Linked DNA regions of Homo sapiens: all the other regions are linked to region 3. Evidence: promoter capture Hi-C in 16 types of primary human blood cells and fetal thymus (Javierre and others, 2016). All regions are on one chromosome and are shown on one strand. The core of a region is centred on a gene start or on the middle of the fragment in contact, and the rest is flanking DNA. Distances in the headings are between cores, read along the strand shown.

Region 1 (4,184 bases), core at 413-2,912, 300 kb before region 3:
GCCAAGTGCTAATATCCAAGACAATGAGGAAAAGGCCTCAAAGACATTTTAGAGATCTAAGAGGCAGCCCCTCCCATCACAGGCCTTGAGGCCTAGAAGGACTAAATGGTTTTAAGGGCCAGGCCCAGGGCCTCTATGCCCTGTGCAGTCTTGTGACACTCCTCCCCACATCTGGACTGCTCCAGCTCCAGCCTTGGCTCAAAGGGACCCAGATACAGCTCAGCCTGCTGCCTTGGCATCCTCTATGTCGTGTTTAGCCTTCAGGTGTGCAGAGTGCAAGAGTGAAGAATACTTGGCAGCTTCTGCCTAGATTTCAGAGGCTGTATGAGAAAGCCTGCATACCCAGGCAGAAGTCTGCTGCAGGGGTGGAGCCCCCAGAGAGACCTCTGCTAGGGCATTGCCAAGGGGAAATGTGGGGTTGGAGTCCCCACACAGAGTCCCCAATGGGGTACCACCCAGTGGAGCTGTGGGAAGGGTGCCGCAGCTCTCCAGAAGTGGAAATGGTAGAACCACCAGTAACTTGCAATCTCAGCATGGAAAAGCAGCAGGTACAGAGCTTCCTAAGAGCCCACTCCTTGCTCCAGTGTGCCTGGATGCAGGATATGGAGTCAAAGGAGATTATTCTGGAGCTTTAAGATTTAATGACTGCCCTGTTGGGTTTTGAACTTGCGTGGGGCCTGTAGCCCCTTTCTTTGGCTGATTTCTCCCTTTTGGAATGAGAATGTTTACCAAATGCCTATACCCCCATTATATCTTGGGAGGAAATAACTTGTTTTGATTTTACAGGCTCATAGGTGGAAGGGACTTGCCTTGTCTCAGATGAGACTTTGGACTTTTGAGTTTACGCCAGAATGAGTTAGGACTTTGGGGGATTATTGGGAAGGTATAATTGTGTTGTTCAATGTGAGAAGGACATGAGATTTTATGGGCCAGGGATAGAATGATAGTTTGAGTATCCATCCTCACTGAAATCTCATATTGAAATGTAATCCCCAATGTTGGAGGTGGGGCCTTGTGGGAAATATTTGGATAATGGGGGCAGATCCTTCATGAATGGCTTCAGCCATCCCTTTGATGATAAGTGAGCTCTTGCTCTGAGTTCACATGAGATCTGGTCGTTTAAAAGTGTGTGGCACCTCCCCCTCTCCATTCTCTCTTTCTTGCTGTTTCTTTCACCATGTGACATGCCTGATTACCCTTTGCCTTCTGCCATGATTGTAAGTTTCCGGAAGCCTCCCTAGAAGCTGAGCAGATGCCAGCACTATGCTTTCTGTAAAGCCTGCAGAACCGTGAACCAATTAAACCTCTTATCTTTATAAATTACCCAGTCTCAGGTATTTCTTTATAGCAATGCAAGAATGGCCTCATACAGTGAGAAAATGCCAAAGTATAAGTGTCTGTACCATTTGCATTCCCAACAGCAAGGTATGAGAGTTCCAGTTGCACCTCATCCTTACCTAAGCTTCCTGTCATCAGGTTTGCTTTTTATAAAGTTATGTTAATTGGTATGTAGCTTTATCTCATTTTGGTCCAAAATTCTATTTTCCTCATGACTAAGGACATTGAGCATCTTTTCATATACTTATTTGTTATCTGTATATCTTCTTTGATAAAAGTTCCCATTTAAATATCTTGTCTATTTTAAAAGTTGTTTGTTTATTGAGTTTTAAAAGTTCTTTATACATTAGAAACAAGTCTTTTACCTGACATGTAATGTCAAACATTTCCTCCCAGTCTGTGGCTGGTCTTTCCATTTTTTAAAGTGTCTTTCAAAGGGCAGAAGTTCTTAATTTTGATTAGGCCCTATTTATCATATTTTCTTTTATGGGTCATGTTTTTGGTGTTGTATTTAAGAAAGCTTTACCTAATTAAGGCTATAAAGATTTTCTCCTATTTTTTTTTCCCAAAAGTATTGTGGTTTTAGGCTTTACATTTAGGCCTGAGATCTATTTTGAGTTAATATTTCTATAGTGGGTAATGCATGCCTTGAGGCATATCCATTTATTTGCCTAGGGATATTCAATTGTCCAAGAACAATTTGTTGAGAAAAACTATCATTTCTCCATTAAGTTGCCTTTGGGACTTTGTCAAAAACCAAATGACCACATGTGTATTGGTCTATTCTAGTCTGTTCCACTAATCTAGATGTTAATCCTTTTCTAATAGCAGATTCTCTTGACTGCCAGCTTTATAGTAAGCCTGAAAATCTGGTAGTGTGAGTCTTCCAATTTTGCTACTTTTCTTACAATTTGTTTTGCCATTCTAGTTATTTTTTAAAATTTCCATAAAAATTTTAGAATTACTTTGCCAATTTCTACAAAAAAGTCCTGCCAGGATTTTTAAATTTATTTTTATTTTTATTTTTTGAGACAGGATCTCATTCTCTCACCCAGGCTGGAGAGCAGTGGTATGATCATGGCTCACTGCAGCCTCGACTTCCCAGGCTCAGGTGATCCTTCCACCTCAGCCTCCTGAGTAGCTGGTACTACAGGTGAACACAATTACACCCAGCTAATTTTTGTATTTTTTGTAGACATGGGGTTTCACCGTGTTGCCCAGGCTGGTCTCAAACTCCTGAGCTCAAGCAATCCTCCTGCCTCAGCCTCCCAAAGTGCTGGGATTAAAGGCATGTGCCACCACTCCTGGCCTGAGATTTTGATTGGAATCGCACTAAATCTATATATCAGTTTGGTGATAATTGCCATCTTAATAATAGTGAATCTTCCATTCATGAACAATATATGCCTCTTCATTTATTTAGGCCTTCTTTCATTGCTTTCATTAGTGTTTTGCAGCTATCAGAGTATAGATATTGCACATATTTTATAATATTTATGCCCAAGTATTTTATATTTTTGGTAGTATTTAAAATGTACTGTTATTTTTATTTCAAGTTCTAATTTTTCATTGGTAGTATAAAGAAATATGATTTTTTCTTTACAATTTTGGCAATCCCTTTCTCTGTTTTTTTTTTTTAATTTGATTTTATTTTAAGTTTTGGGATACATGAGCAGAACATGCAGGTTTGTTATGTAGTTAAACGTGCGGTGGTGGTTTGCCGCACAGATCAACCCATCATCTAGGTATTAAGCTCACATGCATTAGCTATTTACCCTGATGCTCTCCCTTCCCCTGCCCTCCGCAACAGGTCCCACAGGGAGGGGAACAACAGGTCCCAGTGTGTGTTGTTACCCTCCCTGTGTCCATATGTTCTCATTGTTCAGCTCCCACTTATGAGTGAGAACATGCAGTGTTTGGTTTTCTGTTCCTGTGTCAGTTTACTGAGGATGATGGTTTCCACCTCCATCCATGTCTCTGCAAAGGACATGATCTCATTCCTTTTTATGGCTGCATAATATTCCATGGTGTATATGTATCACATTTTCTTTGTCCAGTCTATCATTGATGGGCATTTGGGTTGGTTCCATGTCTTTACTATTGTGAATACTGCTGCAATGAACATACATGTGCACGTGTCTTTATAATAGAATGATATATATTCCTGTGGGTATATACACAGTAATGAAATTGGTGGCTCAAATGGTATTTCTGATTATAGATCCTTGAGGAATTGCCACACTGTCTTCCACAATGGTTGAACTAATTTACATTCCCACCAATAGTGTAAATCATTCCTATTTCTCCACAGCCTTGCCAGCATCTGTTGCTTCTTGACTTTTTGATAATCACCATTCTGACTGGAGTGAGATGGTATCTCATTGTGGTTTTGATTTGCATTTCTTTAATGGTCAGTGATGTTGAGCTTTTTTTCTCATATGGTTGTTGGCCAAATGTATGTCTTCATTTGAGAAGTGTCTGTTCATGTCCTTTGCCTATTTTTTGATGGGGTTATTCATTTTTTTCTTGTAAATTTGTTTAAGTTTCTTGTCAATTCTGGATATTAGACCTTTATCAAATGGGTAGATTGCAAAAGTTTTTCCCATTCTGTAGGTTGCCTGTTTGCTCTGATGATAGTTTCTTTTGCTGGGCAGAAGCTGTTTACTTTAATTAGATCCCATGTGTCAATTTTTGCTTTTGCTGCAATTGCTTTTGGCGATTTCATCATAAAATTTTCATCCATGCCTATGTCCTGAATGGTATTGCATAGATTTTCTTCTAGGGTTTTATAGTTTTGGGTTTTATTGGGTTTTGTTTTTTTTTGTTTTGTTTGTTTGTTTGTTTTG
Region 2 (3,966 bases), core at 969-3,468, 270 kb before region 3:
AAGAAAGAGCAAGAGAGAGATCTAAAAGGAGATTTATTATGGCAATTGGCTTATGTGATTTTGGAGTCTGAGAAGTTCCATGATTTGCCATCTGCAAGCTGGAGACCGAGGAAAGCTGGTGATGTAATTCAATCTGAGTCCAAAGGCCTGAGAACAGAGGGGCTGCTGGTGTAAGTCCTGGAGTCTGAGGGCCCAAGAACAAGGAGTCAATGTCAAAGGTCAGGAAAAGATGGAAGTTCCAGCTGAAGAAGAAAGAGAATTTGCCCCTCTTCTGTCATTTTTTTCTATCTGGGCCCTCAACAGATTGGATGTCACCCACCCACATTCTCTACTCAGTCCATTCATTCAAATGCTAATCTCTTCTGGAAACACCCTCACAGATGCACCCAGAAATCATGTTTTACCAGCTATCTGGGCATCTCTTAGCTCAGTCAAGTTGACACATGGAATTAATTATCACAGAAGGGAAATGTCTACAGGGCCTTCCTGTGATGAGTTTGGGGTACTGGAGGCACCACAGGTTCACCAAGGAGGGGGTGGTCTAGTCAGCCCAGGAGCACAGAGAGAGCCCAATTTGAGAAAATGAACGGGTGAGTTTGGGGTATGGAGAAGGTGGTGGGGAGAGAGGATGTTCCAGACAGAAGAAGGAGTGCAGACAAAGCATGAAGGAATGAAACAACCTAGTCCCATGGGGGACCTCAAACCTGAATATAACTTAATGTAGGATTGGGGAGTATAGAGGAAAGTCCAGTGAGTGTGTCCTCTAGCATAATACTATTTATAAATGCAGTTGTATATTATTTATATATAAATACATAGTATTTCAGTAAATTAAAGAATATAAAATAATGTAAGTTCCCCCCAAACCTAGCCCACACAGTTTACTGAAGGGCTAGAGTGAGAAAGAGGAGAGAGAGCTATCAGTGAGTCTTCCAGCTCCTCCCTCACGCTCAGAAATAAAAGCAGAAAAAATAAGTGCAATCAAACTTGTAGACTGGTTCAGAAGAGGTTCTAGAAGTCCAGGGACCAGGAGCATCAGAATTTTATTAAAATTTGGAAACTTCATAACTACCTAAACATGCTATTTTGTTATTCAATATCTGTTCCTACTCAGTGACTTGAAGAAAAGTAGCACATAGTCAGAATATTGGTCAGGACAGGCTAGGGTCTGCTGCAGAAACTAACTAACCCAGGAATCTCTATGACTTCATGGAATAAAGGTTTATGTTTTTCCTTGTGTAAAGTTCAATGTGCTCAGGGGGGTCTCTTCTACTTTTTAGTATGTCACTTGATATATACTGCCTCTGCAAGAGAGAAAGACACATGCCACTTGCATTCACAGGCCATAATTATTCACAGTCTCAATCCAGCTGCAAGGGAGGCTGAGAAGTGCAAAGAAGCACATGGAATACTTGGTGTATGCCATCTCTGCTGAGCGTGCCCTTCTCATCACTGTCTTCTCATTTCTTTCTGCCCCCACATAGAGCTCACTCAACCCCTCCTCTAAAATCTCCCCCAGTCACCACATCCAGTTCAAACTCAGATCTCTGGGTGATGTCTGGCCTTCTTCCCAGCAAGTTCGCATGTGGCTCCTTTTGGTCCAAGGATACCAAAACTGGAAAAAAAAAAAAAGTCACCTGCCAACCCTGCTTCCAATATATAATGATGAAACTGAGATAATATGGCCTCAATAGGCACCTCCCACTTGGAAAAGGGAAGGATGGGAAGTACATAGAGTCACTGTCCATAGCAATTCTGAAATCCCACTGGGCAGACGTCATGAAAGCCCATATCCTCGGCATCCATGATTAGGCTCTAGTTTTGCTCTCTGAGAGATGCTGCTTTGTTCACTTTTCTCCATGAGCCTGGTTCTACCCATGAGGTTATTTCTTTTTTTGTAAGCTTCCTTGGTAGCACATGAATCAGGCATTGAGAAATAAGCCCTCCTTATGGACTGCTGTTCTAAAAGTTTGGTACAAGCCTTAAGGCTTGAAGACTGAAGGTCTTATTCAGTCTGTCTGTATGGTTCTTTGGTAACATGACCCTCAAAAATGTAGCACAAGTATAAACTTCATTTTATTGCACTTCACTTTTTTGCACTTCACAGATATTCCATCTATTACAAATTAAAGGGTTATAGCAACTCTGTGTTCAGCAAGTCTTATTTTTCTAACAGCATGTGCTCACTTTGTGTCTCTGTTTCACATTTTGGTAATCTCAAAATACTTCAGACTTTTTCATTATTATATCTGTTATGGTGATCTGTGATCAATGATCTCTGATGTCACTACTGCAATTGTCTTGGGGTGCCATAAACAGTGAACTTAGTTGATAAATGCATGTGTTCTGACTGCTTCATTGATTAGCTGATCTATCATCTCTCCCCCTCTCCTCAAGCCTCCCTATTTCCTGAGACATAACAATATTGCCATTAGGCCAGTTAATAACCCTACAATGGGCCTTGAAGCATTCAGGTGAAAAGAAAAGTCACACGTCTGTCACTTTAAATTAAAAGCTAGAAATGATTAAGCTTAGTGAGGAAGGCATGTCAAAAAAAGTGAGACAGACCAAAAGCTAGGCCTCTTGGGCCAGTTAGCCAAGTTGTGAATGTAAAGGAAAAATTCTTGAAGGAAATTAAAAGTGCTGCTCCAGTAAACACACAAAAGATAAGAAGGCTAAGCAGCCTTATTGCTGATATGGAGAAAGTTTTAGTGATAAGAATAGAAGATCAAGTCAGCCACATTTTCTTAAGCCAAAGCCTAACCCAGAACAAGGCCCCAACTCTCTTCAGTTCTGTGAAGGTTGAGAGAAGTGAAGAAGCTGCAGAAGAAAAGCTGGAAGCTAGCAAAGGTTGGTTCATGAGGTTTAAGGAAAGAAGCTGTCTCCATAACATGTAAGAGCAAGGGAAAGCAGCAAGTGCTGATGTAGAAGTTGCAGCAAGTTATCCAGAAGACCACTGATGAAGGTGGCTTCAGTGTAGATGAAACAGCCTTCTACTAGAAGAAAAGGCCATCTAGGACTTCCATAGCTGAAGAGGAGAAATTAATGAAATTGATTACTGAATAAATTACTGAGTATCTTAAGTCCCCTGTTGAGACTTACTGCTCATAAGAAAAGATTCCTTTCAAAATATTACTGCTCATTGACAACGAGCCTAGTCACCCAAGAGCTCTGATGGAGCTGTACAAGGAGACGAATATTGTTTCGATGCTTGCTAGCACAACATCCATTCTGCAGCCCAAGGATCAAGAGGTAATTTTGACTTTCAAGTCTTATTATTTAAGAAATACATTTTATAAGGCTATAGCTGCCATAGATAGTGAATCCTCTGATGGATCTGGACAAAGTAAATTGAATACTTTCTGGAAAACACTCACCATTCTAAATGTCATTAAGAACATTCCTTATCCATAGGAGGAAGTCAAAATATCAATATGAACAGGAATTTGAAAGACATTGATTTCAACCCTCATGAATGACTTCCAGGGGTTCAAGACTTTGCAGAGGAAGTAACTACTGATGTAGTGGAAACAGCAAGAGAACTAGAATTAGAAGGGAAACTTGAAGATATCAGTGAATTGCTAAAATCTCTTGAGATGAAGTCAACTCCCAGTGAAGATGCTTTGAATATTATTGAAATGACAGCAAAGGATTTAGAATATTACATACAATGAGTTGATAAAGCAGTGATAGGGTTTGAGAGGACTGACTTCAATTTTGAAAGAAGTTCTACTGTGGGTAAAATGCTATCTAAGAGCATACAATACTACAGAGAATATTTTGTGAAGAAAAGAGTTAATCGATATGGGAAACTTCATGTTTGTCTATTTTAATAAATTGTCACAGCCACACCAACCATCAGCAACCGTCACCCTGATCAGTCAGCAGCTTTCAGCATCAAGGCAAGACCCTACACCAATGAAAAGATTACAATTCATTGAAGGCTTAGATGATTTGTTAGCAGTT
Region 3 (4,012 bases), core at 935-3,434:
GAGTTAGAAACAAGCTTAGAGAGCAGGTATTTTGCCCCATTCATTACAAAACTATGGCACTGAGGCCAAGTTGCAAAGGATTTGTCAAGTTCACAGGTGATCGTGGTAAAGGCAAAACTAGATCTAAATCAGGACATGAACGCATCCATTAAGGATTCTGTCAAAATGATTGCTTCCTGTAGCTTTCTGTGTGAAACATCCATTTGCTTATCCTCAGGGAAATCAGACTAACAAAGACTTGGAAAGGAACATAAAATTCTAAAGCTAGGCTTATGGCCTTTATAACCCTTAGATGGGGCAGATAACATGCCACGGAGGCTCAGAGACAGCTCTGAGACTATGCAATAGCTACTGTTTCCCCTCTTGTGGAATGTTCACTTAAAAAAGCTCAAGGGCTCTATAAGTTGCCCAATGAACTCCACAGACATCCTTAATTCATTTTCATTTATTGGAACCCTCTCTCAAATAATTTTCTAAATCTCACGCAATAATGATGTATATTCTTGCTCAATATTAAGAAGCCCTCATGCAAAACTGAAGAAATAAATTGTTCTTACAAAAGAAGGAAAAAGGAATTATATTCTCAGAACATTCTGCTTACCCAGACACACAGATCTGATTCTTGCTCCATTGTTTGTGGCATTCTGGATCCTAGGGCCATTGATGAGGCTGGGTCAGTGGCCACACTGGCTCCTGGGTACCCCTTCCCTGGCCACAAAAGTCCATCCCAGCAGCACTATTTAAACTGGACTTATTTCTCACTTCACAGCTCTGGCCTGGGCTGAGACCTCCCCAACAGAGCTTATTAGCGAGCTTGTCATCTTGCTCTGTGGCTATCTAGGTCTGGAGTCAAGAGCCATTCACAGGAAAATCAGCATGAAACCTTTAAGTTTGCATATTAAATATTAACACCACTAAGGGCTACAGTGGAAAAGAGGTTTGCTGAGCTCAAGGGCCCTCACTCCACCCCCAACTTCCCTTGGCTTTTCTCTTCTATGTTGTGTTCCTGGTAAATCCCATTATGTCTCGACTACCTTAGGCCCTCTCAGCCCCTTCTTGGGAATTAGGCTCTCTGGATAGGCAAAGAGGCAGATACCCAGCTGCCAGGTGAATCAGATGTCCTCATCAGATCTCTTAATTTCCACTTTGGTGATATTTCAAAGGATCACAAATTATGTTCTTAGTGCCTGGTCAGAGAACTGGGAAAGAGCTGGAAGATGAGACACCAAACTCCATCCCATGGTGATGTTTGAACCAGGCTGGAGCTGGTTTCACATGTTTTTCATTGTGCATGACTTTCTTAATTGCCTTAGTGGGAATGCGTTACTGCAAAATAAAGTGAAATTGTTTTCCTTATTGCTTGTAATTTACAGAGGGGTGGTTTTGATCATATAAACCAGGCACTTTTCAAATCCATTGATCTTAGGGTGGAAGGAGGGATTTCTTTTTAAGTATTCATTTCGAACTATGCTTTCACTAGTAAACTCAAAGCCCAAGGGCAAAAACCCATGATTCTCCATTTTGTAATAGCTATTAGATGTCCACAGCACATCAGACCTGTGGAAAACGCATGCTTTGTGTATGGAAGAGGGAGAGGGAGCGTCAGGAGTTGTCCTTTGCCAAAAAACGTACTCTGACACTCAAAGGCACAGGCTGGTGGAGATCCAGGGAACCCGGGAAAGCCCAGGCCTAACTCAGGCCCGCGCGGGTCTCTTCTGATCCCATAAGATGAGGAGTGGGTCCTGGCTCTGGGCATCCTGGTGTCGACTGTGAGTTCCCAGCAGAGGCCCAGAGTCCCGGTCCGGCAGCCGAGGGAAGCGGGGGGGTCTTCCAGAAGAAGAAAGGGCCAAGGTCACCCCGGTGCCTCTCCAGCAGCAGCAGAGGGCGGCGGTCGGTGTCGCTGCTGGCCGGGGCCTCGAGGAAGGCGCGGGCCAGCTGGGGCCGGGTCTGCGTTCCCAGGAGCTGCCACCGTTCCAGGGAGCAAGTCAGGCCGGGACGTAGCGCCTGCGCGGGACCCTCACTTGCCACCAAGACCCCCACAAACCCCGCCCCATCCTGCCTTACGCCCCGCCCCAAGGTCGTTCTCCCGACCCGGGGTCCCGCCCCAAGGCCGTCCTCCCGCCCCGCCGCTTGGTGGCGGCCGCATGCTGCCCGGATATAAAGGGTCGGCCCCACATCCCAGGGACCAGCGAGCGGCCTTGAGAGGCTCTGGCTCTTGCTTCTTAGGCGGCCCGAGGACGCCATGGCCGAGTGCCCGACACTCGGGGAGGCAGTCACCGACCACCCGGACCGCCTGTGGGCCTGGGAGAAGTTCGTGTATTTGGACGAGAAGCAGCACGCCTGGCTGCCCTTAACCATCGAGGTACAGCCAGCTTTGGAGCGGATGGCGAGGCAGCAGGGGCAGCCCCTGGGAGCTTGGGATGCCCTAGGAAGGGCGAGGACTCAAGGAGCACTCACTATGGGGCAGGGAGGATCCCCACAGATGAAGCCACTTTGAGCCGGGCTCTGGAGGATGAATAGGAGTTCTCCAGGCAGGGAAGAAGGGTGGGAAAACCGCAAAGGAATGTCGGTCAAAGGGGTGGACCCAGTGCCTGTGGAGTGTGACTATAATGTTGACTACAGCAGGCATTTTCTGGGCTTCGGGGTCCTAATCCTTAAAAATGGGTATCTCTAAGTGACTCATCCATATGGCCGATTATCGGAATCATCTCAGGTGGGTCCCAGAAATCTGTATTTTTAAAAAGAACCCTCAACAGTTTAGGGTCAACCAGGCATAGCAAACACTGGCCTAGAGTGTGAAGTATTTTCCACTACCTCTGGGCTTTATTTAGAAAACAAATTTAACAAGTGATGTCGTAGTATAAGCGCCGGTATTGAATCAATATTGACTTTTTTAATGTGTGATGCCTTAAGATGGGTCCTTAATCCATGTTAAGTTTTTGTTAAAGAAATAGATAAGTCTTTTACAAGTATTTGGATTTACTCAATGAAAAAGAGTCAAAAAATGTTCAAACTCTCTCCAAACATACACTGAAGAAAGCATAAAAATTAAAAAATATATTAGAACACGTATGTCCAGTAGCAATCAAAAATTATTGAGTGTTGACTGTGTCTCTACAGATGGGAAACTGAGGCACAAAAATGTACATTTGTCCGAGGTAAGATTGCTAGTAGGTAATGGGGTTGGAATTCTAGGCTCTTAACCACCACAAAATCTGCATTTTTATTGGCATTTCAATTTTTTAAATATGTTTTTACTTTAAAAATCAAGTTAAATACTTACTTTTTTAAAATCAAAATTTGAAGAAATAATTTGAAGATTCAGTGGATTTCTTTTTTTAAATCTCTGAGAAATCTCTTCTTCAACGTGACACCAAAACCACGAACCAGACAGTTTTTCATAAAATCATGATACATGCTCCACAAAAAATAACCCACTAGCAAACTGTGGGACAGATTTTGCCTCACATCATTGAAAAGGCCAGTATTCTTTTTCTCTCTTTCTTTCTTTGTTGTTTTTTTTTTTTCCTGTAGATACAGGGTCTCGCTCTGTGACCCAGGCTGGTCTTAAACTCCTGGCCTCAAGCGATCCTCCTGCCTCTGCCTTCCAAAGCACTGGAATTACAAGTGTGAGCCGCTGCAACCCGCCAGAAAAAAGTGTGCCTTTCATGGCCCTGTCTGGGTGGCTAGACACGTGTGTGTGCTGGTGGTCCTGGCCCAGCCAGAGTCCCTGAGAGGAGCATGCATGGCCTAAGGAAGTGAGCTTCAGGGAACAGTGATGACCATCATTTCACACTCGGACCCCTGCCCAGATGGGTGGATGGCTGGCAGGAGGGATTCCGGTTTTCTGCGCCTGGAGAAGCCCTGGCAAGCGGAACCTGAAAGTATGCCCTGTCCTTTTCTTCTCCTCAGATAAAGGATAGGTTACAGTTACGGGTGCTCTTGCGTCGGGAAGACGTCGTCCTGGGGAGGCCTATGACCCCCACCCAGATAGGCCCAAGCCTGCTGCCTA

Evidence for each region. Contacts are between HindIII fragments. The CHiCAGO score rates a contact against its expected background, and 5 or more counts as called.
Region 1: a fragment that was not itself captured here is called in contact with the fragment with the promoter of TCL1A in region 3 in 1 of 17 cell types (naive B cells); the score reaches 7.8 in naive B cells.
Region 2: a fragment that was not itself captured here is called in contact with the fragment with the promoter of TCL1A in region 3 in 2 of 17 cell types (naive B cells and total B cells); the score reaches 7.0 in naive B cells.

The regions. Positions count from the first base shown.
Region 1 is chr14:96,007,251-96,011,434 of GRCh38, reverse strand. No RefSeq gene overlaps it. Among named protein-coding and RNA genes, the nearest start is that of C14orf132, 30 kb to the left of the region's middle. The HindIII fragment of the contact is 396 bases long and covers 1,465-1,860 here.
Region 2 is chr14:95,985,116-95,989,081 of GRCh38, reverse strand. No RefSeq gene overlaps it. Among named protein-coding and RNA genes, the nearest start is that of C14orf132, 52 kb to the left of the region's middle. The HindIII fragment of the contact is 628 bases long and covers 1,905-2,532 here.
Region 3 is chr14:95,712,297-95,716,308 of GRCh38, reverse strand. TCL1A (TCL1 family AKT coactivator A) reads left to right here and starts at 2,184. Exons shown (of 4, transcript NM_021966.3): 1 at 2,184-2,362; 2 at 3,913-4,012. The coding sequence starts at 2,243. LOC107984703 (a long non-coding RNA gene) reads right to left here and starts at 826. Exons shown (of 3, transcript NR_148060.1): 1 at 602-826. RefSeq lists a silencer at 1,930-2,169 and enhancers at 2,400-2,449, 3,564-3,783, 3,824-3,983. The HindIII fragment of the contact is 7,267 bases long and covers 17-4,012 here.